Linked DNA regions of Homo sapiens: region 1 is linked to region 2. The links are contacts of gene promoters, found by promoter capture Hi-C in blood cells and fetal thymus (Javierre and others, 2016). All regions are on one chromosome and are shown on one strand. Each heading gives the region's core, a stretch centred on a gene start or on the middle of the fragment in contact. The rest is flanking DNA. Distances are from core to core; before and after follow the strand shown.

Region 1 (6,999 bases), core at 3,502-6,001, 1.9 Mb before region 2:
TTGGATATTTTGAAGAAATTAATGATCTCATATAAATGTGTGTAAAAATAAAGGTATATGAAGAGCTTAAAAAAAGGAATAGAGAAGGGGAGAAATTCCAATACCATTTATTAAGACACACTGCAAATCTATATTAATAAAAACTTTGCGGTTTTGTCACAAAAGCAAGACAAATGGATAAGGAAACAGAAAATTCAGAGACAGATTAATGTATATGTGAAGACAATTTATTGTAAAGATGTCACTGCAACTCAATAGGTAAACAAAAATTATTTAGTTGACATACTGGGAAAACTGACAAACTTACTGATATGGTTTGGCTCTGTGTCCCCACCCAAATCTCATCTCAAATTGTAATCACCACGTGTTGAGGGAGGGACCTGGTTGGAGGTGATTGGATCATGGGAACAGTTTCCCTTATGCCATTCTCATGATAGTGTTATCACAAGATCTGATGGTTTAAAAGTGGCACTTCCCTCTTCATGCTCTCTCTCCTACTGCCTCGTGAAGAAGTGCCTGCTTCCCTTTCACCTTCCACCATGCCTGTACATTTCCTGAGGCCTCCCTAGCCACATGGAAATGTGAGTCAATTAAACCTTTTCTGCTTATAAATTACCCAGTCTCAGGCAGTTCTTTATAGCAGTGTGAAAATGGACCAATACATTTACCAGAGAAAATAAGATTAGATCCTTACAAAATACCATGCACAAAAATGGAATCTATATGGATTAAAGACCTAAATGGAAAGGTAAAACTACAAAGTTATTTGAAGAAAATATCAGTGAATACTGATTTTTTAATTAAAAAGAAATCAGATTCAGTGGGTACACTTGCATGTTTGCTGCATGAATATATTGCATAATGGTGGGGTTTGGTCTTCCATTGAATCCGTCATCCCAATAGTGAACACAGTATCCAATAAGTAGATTTTTACCCTTAACCCCTCCCTCCCCCCTTTTGGAGTCCTCAGTGTCTAAGAGAATACTGTTACAACCTAGAAAGTGGGGAAATACTTCTTACTAAAAACTCCAAAAGTAACGACTATAAAAAAAAAATCTAAGCTTAACTATTTTAAAACGAAGGATTTCTCTTCAACATTTGGCATCCTAGGAAAAGCTCAGTAGATGACAGAAAGAAGAAATATCTCCAATATTTAAAATTGGCAGGGACTCGGCCGGGCGCGGTGGCTCACGCCTGTAATCCCAGCACTTTAGGAGGCCGAGGCTGGCGGATCAAGAGGTCAGGAGATGGAGACCATTCTGGCTAACATGGTGAAACCCCGTCTCCACTAAAAATACAAAAAAAAAAAAAAAAAAAAATTAGCCGGGTGTGGTGGTGGGCACCTGTAGTCCCAGCTACTCAGGAGGCTGAGGCAGGAGAATGGCGTGAACCCGGGAGACTAAACTTTCAGTGAGCCGAGATCGCACCACTGCACTCCAGCCGGGGCGACAGAGCAAGGCTCCGTCTCAAAAAAAAAAAAAAAAAATTGGCAGAGACTCAAATATGGACTAAAGAAATTTATGATGTAAAGGAGAACAAAACAAGATATCCCAAAAGAAAATGAAAAAAGTATACAAAAGTGTTTTATAGGTCTATTAATTATTGCTTATTTTATTATTTTCAATAGAAATTCAACTTATTCCAGAAAGACTCATGTTCCCTCTTAAGACTCATCTATTCATTTTTATATTCAGAATATAAAAATGAATATATGTAGAATATCAAAATGAATGTTAACATTTTAAACCCTAAAGAATGACAATTATTCTAACAGACACAAAATAAAACCCCTCAAAAAGTGTGGCAATTATGTGACAAACACATAAGGCTCTGATTTTAATGATGAAGTTCTCTAAAAAGACTGGAGTTACAATTATCCAGTCATTTTTAAGGAAAGGATAAATTCATTTTATAAAACATATTGGCATGGGAAATAATGTAGTATCAGATTTCATCTAAGTGTAGAACTCACCATTTCCCCTCCAGGCTTAAGCAAATATTACATGAGTGAGGGCTCTTGTAAAATGTTATGTTTTGAAATAGATTTCATTAATGGCTTCTAGTGATAATTTATGTCTCATTTATACACAAGTCTTTTCTCATACTAATCATGGATAGCTTATTTGCATATAAATAGATTTCAGTATTTGCTGAAGCAAAGACCAAATATGCTTCTTTTTTTTTTTTTCCCCTCCTGGACATTGTTAAAAAGAAAAAAAAAGGAGGGGAGGGGGACATTGTGATAATTAGCAATCAGGATATATAATAATTTTCTTAATAAAAAATTTTTGTAGGCAACATTCTTTGGTGTTTTTATTGATATATTTCATGTCAAAGGTTGTGACCTCTATTAAAATTATAAAGAAAAACAATCTGCACAGTTTTTGCAGTGATATATGTTTTAAAAAGAGTATTTTGATATTGGTTGTTTAAATGTTTACTCTGAGTCTCTGGATACTGTCTCCTAATTAGGTTTTACAGTTTCTGATGTGTACCATGTTCTGTTTTAGAGAAGGTAAATGTAATTTTTGTAACTGTATTACTTAGCTAAATAAATTCTTTACTTCTGAGCTGTAACAAGTCATATGTTTATTGTATAAATATGTTTTGTTTATTTCAGTTAATAGTGTACAAATGCTAAGCTTTCGGTCATCATATAGTTAAAAATACCAAAATCTTAATTTTTTTTATTATAGAGTATACTTCCTTTCAAAATAAGTCTTATAATAAGAAGACCTTTTGAGTCTACTTTTATTTCAACTAACAATGGACATTAGTGAAGAAATAACAATTAACTCAATGTTTGTAAAAGATATCCATTTGATATTTGCTTCTTGACTTTCAGTATTTGAAATAGGATATGCTCCTGTATTGTTGCACTGTAAGTGAATAACCAACTTCCTCTTATGACACACAATATATCTGAGTAATTACTTGGGGAAATTAAGATAACAGCTGCTTTCTGGTAGATATGATGTCCATTAATATGTGTCTTTCTGACCAGCAGAGGTCACTCCGTGTAAAGTGAATAATGACTTCAGCTTTCAAAAAAGACAGCAAACATGACTGTTCTTTTTGAGCAATTCGTTTTTACTTGATTTCTGTTACTAGCAAAAAATGCTGTTTTCATCTCTTGCTATACGTGCTTGCCTAAATGAGTGAGGCTGTTCCTTGCAGTTGAAAGATTTTTCTAAACATGAAGGCAAAAGTATAATCCTGAAAGAAATGGTTAAGGCACTGTATTTAAATCTGTATGTTTTTGAATATTATACAGATGATTTCTAGTTAAAAATATGAGGGAGAAGATTGTCTCTTAGGGAAGACGTCACATTGCATTCTACCACAGAGAGGCAGCCTTCACCCAAAGATAGGATGTAGTGCTATTGGATTCTAGAAAAATAGCATTTAACTCTAGAATTTGTTTTATTGTTGTTTATAACAGGCTTTGAAAGTAGCAGTGTGTGGCAGCCTTGACAACTAGCAGTGTGGTAATATGGAGATTTGAAGACAACTTGATTTTTAGAATTGTGATATTTGTGCTTTCCTTAAATGTGTTTATACTTACAACTTTTAAAATATATGGGTAAAACAAAAATTACCTCTATTTTTGGTATGCTAGTGAATTAGTAATTAATTCAAAAAAAAATTCCCTAAATTTATCAACTATGCTTATTTATTCCATCTCCTAGACCCAGTTCACCTTTTAGAGAATTGTCATGCTGTGGTAAAAGCATAACATTGTCATTTGATTAATATGATATTTGTTTGGCAAATTTGATGGTTTTGGAGGTGCTGAGACATCTAATGGAGATTAAGAAGGCAGCATGAAGTAGTAAAAAGAGCTGTTAAAACCATAAAGTGAAGCCACAGCTCTGCTATTTAACTCTGTTTCCTGTGAAGTTTAAATAATAATTTTCCCCTTTCTACCCTCTCAGGGATATTCCAAGGATGAAAAGCAGGTACTTTGATCCTTACTCATTTTATAGCTTATGAAAGTTGTTTAACTTCTCTGAGCTGGTTTTTTTAATTTCTATTACAAAAGAGAAGACTAAAGGTGAGCATGATTTAGAGAATTAATCAAGGTCACATGGCTATAGAAAGCTTGAATTTCAATTTAGGTTTAAGATTTATTCTAGAAATAATAGGCTAAAATAACATAGAGATGAAAATATACTTGCAAGCATTGCCTCTTCAGTTATCATGAAGTAAGTTTGCCAATTTGGTCCAAGATTAAAATAGTATGACATCCACATAACAGAATTCATACTGAGTGAAGGATGTATACTGAAAAGAAAGTCTTTTTCCTAGCTTAATACTGCCAGCCTCATGTTAATCTCTTTCCTCCCAGGTAACAATTGCTCTAACATGTTTACAAATATTTATGTGATGTATCATCTAAATGCTATTTGCATATTATAAATAGAAATGCGACTTCAATCCATCTATTTCTTTTCATGGACAATTACTAAAAAGAAAGTAAAATGACAAGAAAATGGTTAAAATGCTTAAAGTCACAGAAGTAGATTCTAGGTAGCTTATAAATTGATTCTTCCTTTCTTGATTCAGTTCAGTTCAGCTCAATAAGCATTTATAGAGGCTCTACCGTAGGCAGGCACATAAGATTCAGATATATTTCAGAGAAAATTATAGTCTCATCCAGAATTTCGGAAGGTTTATTCTTTGTTTGGATCACTGGTTACCAAGATTATTTGAGAGAAAACTGATTTAAAGTATAAATATTTTTAAGAACAACAACACACTAAATTGTAGTTTAGAGGTCAAAACCAATGGGTTTTATTGAAATTGTTTTCTTGGTCCCACTTTCAGAGAATATGATTTATTATTTTGGGATGAATCCAAGGAATCTTCATTTTTACACTAATTGGGATGATTCTGATGTCTGTGGTCCATGAACAACATAAAATATATGATGCTGCATATGATTGTTTTTGTTTTTTAGTCTGATGTGTCATGCCCTACAACAAGTTCAGCCAGAGACCAGTGGAGTAACATTTCTAAAGCTATAGAAGGGTAGTGAATAAACCCTGTGAGCTGTAGGTACTAAAGCCAGATGAAGAATCCCTTAATTATTTGAAAGTAGACATTATTAATGTAAAAAATTCCACTGTTAGTTATCTTGGTTGTAATTAACCAGTGGTAGTCTTATCCAAAATGATTGAGACCAGAAGAGTTTCAGATTTCAAAGTTTTTGGATCTTAGATTTGCATTACTTATACTCAACAGTTCAACATCCCTAATCTGAAAATCCAAAATCTGAAATGTATCAATGAGTATTTTCTTTGAGCATCACGTTGATGCTTGAAAAGTTTCAGATTTTGGAGTACTTTGGATTTCAGATTTTTGGATTAGGAATATTCAGCCTTAGTTGATGAGAAGCTTTGAAAGGGAAGAATGCTGCTGAATTCTCACAGTAGTCTGCTGTCTCTTATTCTAGTAGGACATAGGAACAAGGTTAAGAATATTTACATTACATGATTACAGGATCATAGTGACCAAAGAATACTGTAAGGGTGAAGAAAAGCATTCTTATTTAGATTTAAATCTATATATAGATTTTGGTTCACTAAAAAGGAGGACAAAGGTTACTGAAATATTCAATGGTTAATCTAATAGTTCTTTTTTAATATCCAATGAATGTAAAAAAATTTTGATGACATCAAAGCATGAAAAGTATTGTATCATTCATTTCATCTATAACATATATTTGCTTTAGGCTACAGAATTTGTTCATTTAAGTTGTAAATGAAATATTAATCTTTGCTTAATTGGCTTCTCACTAAATAAATAATGTAGGCTCCTCTTTCTGGAAACTCTAAACTCTTTGACTCTAGCTTTTTCCTAGCAGACCTATACAGGTAAAGATGTTAGCAGCAGATTCAAATCCAAACATATTTAGAAACCTTACAATTTTTAACAAGTTGAGAAAATGGAAAATAGTCACAATTTAAATGGTATAAATTAGTGATTTTCTTTAATGTTTGTGAAGAATTTAGTTTATTTAAATCAAGTGTTTTAATTATTTTTAAAATAAAGTTGGTATTTTATTTAAAGGATTTTATGTGACTTCATCTGTGATGTGACATGTTTTAGCATTATCCTGATTTGTACATGTAATATTCCCAGAGATAAGTATCAGTCTTGACAGAGGGAATGCCTTGCTAAATAGAGTGGTGCTAATTTAGCCCTGAGAATGGTGATCTAAGGGAACTTCAAATATATGTTGAGACTTATTCTACTTTTTTGCCTTGATAATTTTCTTGGTAATATGGCTCCAAACCTTTATGTAAGAACTGTGAAGTATAAAACCAAAATTTAATTATGAGAATTTGCCACTAATATTTCAGGACAATTGTGAAGTATTCTGTTTACCTCGAAGACAACTTCATATTTTATTATTTGGTAATTCTGTTCATTCTTACAAATAATTCATGTGTTACATATTTATGTACTGCCTACTCAAAGTGGTTTTAGGTGAAGGGTGATTATCCTTCCTTCCAGTTGGTTCCTGTAATTCACACAGAAACTGTATTACACCCACATTTATGACTGGTGAAAGTCATTCAAATTTATCTACAATGTATTTACGTTATCACAGAGTGGAAGTATCTTTTTTATAGCAGCAGTTGAAAGACTTCACTTGACAGGGCTTATGGATGTACATTTTGATAAGTATGTATTAGAGGTACACAGATAAACAGACATTGCTGTCTGAAGAGATATTTCAGTCAAGCCAAATCCATATGACTTTGTATTTATATGTCATAACAGTGACAGCCCTATAGCTTAATCAGTGCTAGGAACACATGTTTTAACAGGTGCATGCTTTAGGTAGATGCCAGGAGATGAATTTCTCAGTCTACTTAGTTTGGAGTGCATTAAAATAGTTCATTTCTTAGGGGCTTTGTACACAATAACTTCCAGATACTCTGTAATAACTTTAAGATATCCTTGAACATGTAAAATCTTATTTCTTAAAAT
Region 2 (6,690 bases), core at 613-3,112:
AAAAAATCCTTGTTCTTCCTCCCCTGCCCTGTTAAATATCATATATTATTGGAAAAACGGTCAGTGTTAACAAACTTCAGCACCACGTGTGTGGGTGTGCGCATGCGCACACTGTTACACTAAACTGTATTCGTTATTAGGTAATTCAAGTAAATGGTTACATATCCATAGGTGTCCTGAGTAGCTTGAAATAATCTCCTTACCTCAGGATGGTGATTCTACATAGAAACCCATGGCAGGGGAAGCAGGAAACAACTTTCTTTTAAAGAAGAGAATGCATTAAAATAGTATAAAGCTAAATCAAATGGAACTGTTATGACAAACAGTTTGGGAAGTTAAATAATCTCCTTTTCCTATTTTAGACTTGTATAAGTTCAAAATAATCTTTAAGATATTCACACTAAATTGTTACCTATATAGTATCTTTTAATGCAAAAATATACAGTATAATTGAATATAATATCACTTTTATTGAATGCATGTCTTTCAATCTCTTTTAATAATCTCTTTTAATAAATGCTTACAAGGCTTTTGTTTTATGAGTTTTATTCCTCCTTGAGTTGAGAACACAGTTTCTTAAATTTGACCATGAACATTCCATTGAGAGACTGATGATAAATTCACACGTAGCCTCCCTTTAACTGACGGACTTAAACTTGATCCATGGATTTGCACCACGAACTTCAAAAGATGAATCACTGCTGTAGATGTGATGGCCTAATTCTTCCAAATGTGGCTCAGGATCAGTGGTAGCAAACTGGGCAGCATCATCAATTTCTTTCCTCACCTCAGCCCCAATTTCCTTTAATTCTTCCACAGTGGCGAGCTTGCTGTTTACCATTCTATCTTGGAGAATTATTATAGGATCCCTCTTACTTCTTACTTCCTGAATTTCTTCTCGTGTACGATAACTGACTCCAGGATCACTCATACTGTGTCCATGATAACGGTAGGTTTGCAGCTCCATCAGTATGGGCCCCTTTCCAGATCTACAGTAGTTAGCTGCAAATTTTGTTGCCTCACGAACACACAGAACATCCATTCCATCGACCTTTAGCCCAGGGATAAAATTGCCCCTCTTGTAGTAATCAGGGCTGGCTGCTGCTCTCTCAGTAGATGTTCCCATTCCATATAGGTTATTCTCACAGATGAAAACACAAGGTAATTTCCATAAAGCTGCCATATTGAAAGCTTCGGCTATCTGCCCCTGATTCGCAGCGCCATCCCCATATAAAGTCAAACAGATCTCATCGTTTCCTTTATATTTACAGGCCAGAGCAATGCCAGCGCCCAGGGGGCCCTGTGCACCGACGATGCCATTGCCCCCATAGAAGTTCTTGGTATACATATGCATCGATCCTCCTTTTCCTTTAGCACAACCTCCTCTTCTTCCCGTCAGCTCTGCGAGAATGGATCGGACAGAAAGTCCCCGAGTATAGCACACACCATGAGCCCTATAGGATGTAATGACGTGATCCGAGGGGTTTATGCCGGCCTCAAGGCCCACGCAACAAGCTTCCTGACCATCGCACAGGTGACAGAAACCGCGAATGAATTTCTGTTTGTACAGCTGATCTGCCTTCAATTCCATGCGGCGAACAGTCAGCATCATCCTGTAGTATTTAAGCCCCTCCGCCCTAGTGAGCACTGTAGTGACAGGGGGACCCTCTTCCAACAGATAAAGATCACATTTCTTAATTTCAAATGTAGCGTCATTTGAGGAGTTACGGGATGCCACCAGCACTCTGCGAGCTGATTTCTGGGCAACTCGCCTCAACACGCGGGAGATGAAGGCGGCCAGCATATTCTTCACGGAGTGCTGTAGATGGCAGCGGCGTCCCGTAACGACCGCCGGAAGGCCTGGCCTCGGCTCCGCGTCTCCTTCCGGTGCTCCAATGCGCTTGGCACCATCCGGGCAGTGCACACGGGTGATAGAGGCAGGTCCTGCACAGCACTGGGACATGGGCCACGCAGCCTGAGCTGACTGATTTGTACAGTGCCTGCCAGCTGTAAAATGAAGACTAAAAGTGATTTCCTTTTCTGGAGGACTTGGGCAAACTACAGGGCATCCTAATCGCCGTCATTGCTGAACCTCAATAATCTGAGTCCCTTTTCCCTGTTAAACCCTGGAGCACTGTATCTCAAGCTTTCCCGACAAGCGTATCAAATAGAAGAAAGGAACAAACTCAGTCCCTAAGGCACATGAGAGTTCTGAGAGTTAGTCCAAAGGTATTTCTTCCTACCAATATTTCTTTAATGTCTTGTTTTTGATCTTTAAAATAGGTATGAATATTTATCCTGCTCCATAATGTGCCATATGTATTTTAAGGTAACAACAAAGCTGTAAATTATTTGTAGCTTAATTAACTTTAAAAACAAAACAAGCACACGCACGTTAACAAAAACCCCTTTTAAAGAAAAGTCAGTACTCTCAAATAATATGCCACATTTATCCTGATGGCGTCTAGCACCTGTGACACTTGAAGTGGGGAGGGAAAATGTATACAAACCTCGGCCTGAGGATAACACTTTAAACCCAGTAATAAACTTTGCTTGGTGTGGGAAAATTGGAAGCAGGGAGAGAGGGTTGAGGTGCAGATTGTGGTAAAAAGTTTGTAGTTTGTGACATTCCACTTTTCCTTACTCTGTTTAATAATTCTGAATCTCTGTTTTTACCTAGTTTTATCCCTATTTTCTGACTACTTCACTTTTGCTCTTCCTTTTGTTTATTTCCTCTTTTTTTTCTTTTTGGTTTTCTATAAAAATGTCTTCAGCAGGTTTCCATAGACTTTCAGGTGGTATTTATTTATTTATTTATTTATTTTGCTTTCATATCAATCAAACTGGACCAGCCTTAGTCCAGGAAATCTAGAAACATGTTCTTATAGTGCCTTTTTATGTAGTAACCATTAGAAAGTGTTACTTCTTATAAAGTGACCCACCAAACAATACACAGTTTGGACTACAAGAGAGCAACAGAGTTTGCTTATGCCACTGGAAACCGTTCAATCACAAGAGAAGAGAAGCCTTAGACCAAGGGATACAAAGATCACATATCATTTCTCTCTTTTTGTGCTTTTACCAGGAAGGCGATTTTGTGCCCCAATAAGCCAACCCTAACTAGGGATCCTGTTTTATTTAGAATATTAAGCCATTCACCTTAATGCATGCTCTGTTTTATATCCATTGCCTATTTGCAAATGATAAATTCTTACCCAAATGTCCCTATTACATGTTCAAAGCAGCTGCCTTCTCTATATCTAGTTGCAGGTGTTATTTTGGGCACTTCTTTTAATATTCAGGAAGAAAAGAGAAAATAGCTTGTTAAAAAGTTAAGATACCTCTTAAAACTTGATCGTCTCCCCACCTTCTGAACCCAGCCATCATAATAGGCCTCATCTTTTCACTCAATTGAAAATTCAACTGTTGGAATTCATGGTCTTGCTGTGTTGTTTGCTCCCTCTTTGATAGTTAGCCTGTCTCTGCTGTTCTCTTTCATTCCTCCAGGTATTGGAGATCTCCAGGGAGCATTATCTCCATAAGAATGAGAAAAATGACACTGCAGGATAGAACAGTAGTGTTAATGGGTCAGTGAGTGACAGCTGAGCCTTCTCTCAGAGGTATCAGCCAGGCCAGTGCTGCCAGGAACACAAGAGCTGTACAGTAAAGTGTGCCAATTTAATCTTGTCACACGTAGCCTGGACTGCAAAGATAGAGCTCCCCTTAAAAGCCCAGTGTGTCAAGCCTAAACCCGACTCATGCCAGAAGAGAACATACAAAGATGCTAATTGGAAAATATCTGTACTACGGGTTCCCACAGAAGATGTCCTTTAAAAAAAAAAATTTCTCAACAGGATCTAGTTAAGATAATAAATAATAAAATGTGAAACTCCCATAGACCTCTTGGTCATCAGTTACCCTATATATCCTAAATTCAACTTAAAAATAGACATCTGAAATCAAACAATGTTGAAGCATTTCAATTAAACTGATTAATCTTGATAATGACTTTTTGACTTTTATTGCTATCCTTCCAAATCCATCTACATTTTTCAAAGAAAGAATGAAATTTCCAGACATCAGGGTAAAATGTTTATCCTGAGCTGTTGAGCTTCTCCTCTTACATGCCCCCCAGCTAGATAGGATTCAAGCTATTCACGGACAATAGAGCCAATGATGGTGTTCTTTTCTTCAAATGATTTATTTTTTGTCCTGTCCTTGTTCAATACTATGTTGATTACCAAACAGAACTAAGAAGTCATCTACGTACTCACCACAGAAATGTTATTTGCAATTAGAAACCCCATAAATTCTAAGTTTTTAATTAACACCAAATCTCACTTTTAATCTACTTGAAATTAAAGGAAAACAGATGAGCACTCTTATAAGGCCAATGGCAGACTTTACATTTAATTAATAAAAACCCCTATAAAAGAAGAGCCAGTGATTATAGTAGCAGTCATTCATGCCAGTGTGACAGCATTTCACATTTCATGTCTGATGGTTGATCCTACAGGGGTATTTCTGAATTTATCTTAAAAGTGTCACTCCCATGGCATCAATAACACATATTTTTTAAATAATAGACAAGGAAATGTGAAAAAGAACAGTGAGAATGTTTGAAGGATATTTACATTTCTTCAGTAATTATTGCACTTTTTCACCAAATGTTAGGTGAAGAAAGCTGTTAAAGAGTGAATATTTTCTAGATAAGCAATATCAGATCTCATTAGATGATTAGTGGCAGTGTATTTTTTTCATAGCTCTAAGATTTGGCAATTAAGAGTGATGAGTAAGAACTTAGTGCAAAAATTACAAGTTATATATATATAACTCTGAGAAGAATTTCTCTGTTGGAGAAAAGACACAATGTCAGTACCATATATTTTGAAAAATGATGACAATCAAGCAAAGTTTCTCTCTAATATTACAATAAGCAAAGCTATTCCAGAACACTTCAGAGGCTTGGGCAAACAATATTTTTTCTTGTATGATCTTACTATATTTGAAATATGATTAAAATAAAAATCCAGGATAGATTAATTCAAAGAGAAGACTTAATTAGAAATGAGAGGTAAAGTAGAAGTGCTTCTCATCCTACCCAGATAATGATGGTGTGAGAAAAAGGAAGACATTGTGGGTTAATTTTTAGTGTAACAGATGGACCACCATCTTTCTCCTGATAGATGACCGGAGTCATCTGAGTCATCATGCTCCTAGTGCTAAATCCACTATTTCAAGAGTTTGGGATGAGGGTCTAACATATATGATAAAAGAGATCATGAAGCAAAATTGTAAAATAAAACTTTGCGAACATTTTAATAACTTCTCTATAATTAGAGCTGTAATTGAATATGGCCAAGTGACATAAGAAGTAAAATTTTATGTATAAAATCTGTTGTCAAGATTTACTACAGTCTGGTGTCTCAACCAGTAGAGGACTAGAACATGAGTCAAGAGTTTTGAACTGATTCCTGCTCAATATTTTGAGTTGCTTTGTAAAACCACAATCCCCATTCAAAGGAAAAATCATTAATTCAATAAACATTCCTGACAAATCACAGCAGTTTCAAGAAAGTCCAAGTCAGAGTTAAATCTATTTGCCTGTTCTCCTAAAATCTTTACACTTCTTGGGCAAATCTTGTACTTAGCAGATTTTAATTCTCACATACTTAAAACCCCATGTCTCAAATTTTTATTCTGCAAATAAACATACATTTACCCCTAGTAACCTTGATTTTATTATACTAGCAATAAAGTATACACAAAATATGCTAGTAAAAATGAATGCTATATATTCAATATTGCAATGAGGGCTTCTCTCCTCTGTGCAGTCGTTTTAATATATTAGTTTCCTCTTAACTGTACCATGTTATTACGTTTTCTTTATATATGCCCTCCCACAACCCTTCTAATGACTTTTGGTGGAATATTAACTGTTTCTAATATCAGTATGCCCATGTAATAACAAAATTACCACGACTATTTCCTTTGACTTTGCCTCTTTGAAGAAGACCTAAGTCACTGACGGATGTTTAAAGAGAGAGGAAGGAATATTGGCAAAAATCCAGGGCACTGCTGCCCCCTAGAAGGAAGTTTGAGCAGCACATTTGACAAACACAAATCTTGAGAGAAACAGACTTTGAGGAAGATTGCTAATCATGCACCCCACTTTAAGAACCTACTGTTGACCACATCTTCAGTTTTCTTTGCCCTGTCTTACATCTAAGCTAGGGCACAGTGTTATCTATTACATCGTAAACTTAGACCTGTATAGATTCTGTCCAAATAGATTCATAGGAGATACCTGTGAATATGTACAGACATATAAGCACATTTTTCTTGGCAAATAATTTTTTTTAATAATGAGAATGAATTTTTCGATTATTACATGCATTAATTTGAGATATAAAACATCATAAATATTTCCCAGGTATGTGATAGAATAGACTTGCATCTCTTTCCTAGAGATACAAAGTTAAGGAAGTTTGTATCTCCAGGAAATACAGTTTGCTCATTTGACCCTCATATGGTTTAGTGTCTCATTCCCAATTTCTGGAAGAGGAAACTGAGGCCAAGGAATTAGGCAAATACAAAGCTAATTTAAAAAAGTAAAATATTTATTCTTCGTTTATTCATCATGTATGCATGAAGTGCCTTTCTTTTATATATCCCCTTTCTGTATTAAGT

The links. The method cuts DNA at HindIII sites, captures the fragments that hold promoters and counts their contacts. A CHiCAGO score of 5 or more calls a contact.
Region 1: a fragment that was not itself captured here is called in contact with the fragment with the promoter of PDHA2 in region 2 in 1 of 17 cell types (megakaryocytes); the score reaches 5.7 in megakaryocytes.

Annotation. Positions count from the first base shown.
Region 1 is chr4:97,717,285-97,724,283 of GRCh38, reverse strand. The region is part of intron 9 of STPG2 (sperm tail PG-rich repeat containing 2); the gene reads left to right. Among named protein-coding and RNA genes, the nearest start is that of STPG2-AS1, 350 kb to the right of the region's middle. The HindIII fragment of the contact is 1,296 bases long and covers 4,104-5,399 here.
Region 2 is chr4:95,835,265-95,841,954 of GRCh38, reverse strand. PDHA2 (pyruvate dehydrogenase E1 subunit alpha 2) reads right to left here and starts at 1,862. Exons shown (of 1, transcript NM_005390.5): 1 at 491-1,862. The coding sequence starts at 1,804. The coding sequence ends at 638. RefSeq lists enhancers at 1,344-1,843, 1,844-2,345, 3,201-3,803. The HindIII fragment of the contact is 631 bases long and covers 1,518-2,148 here.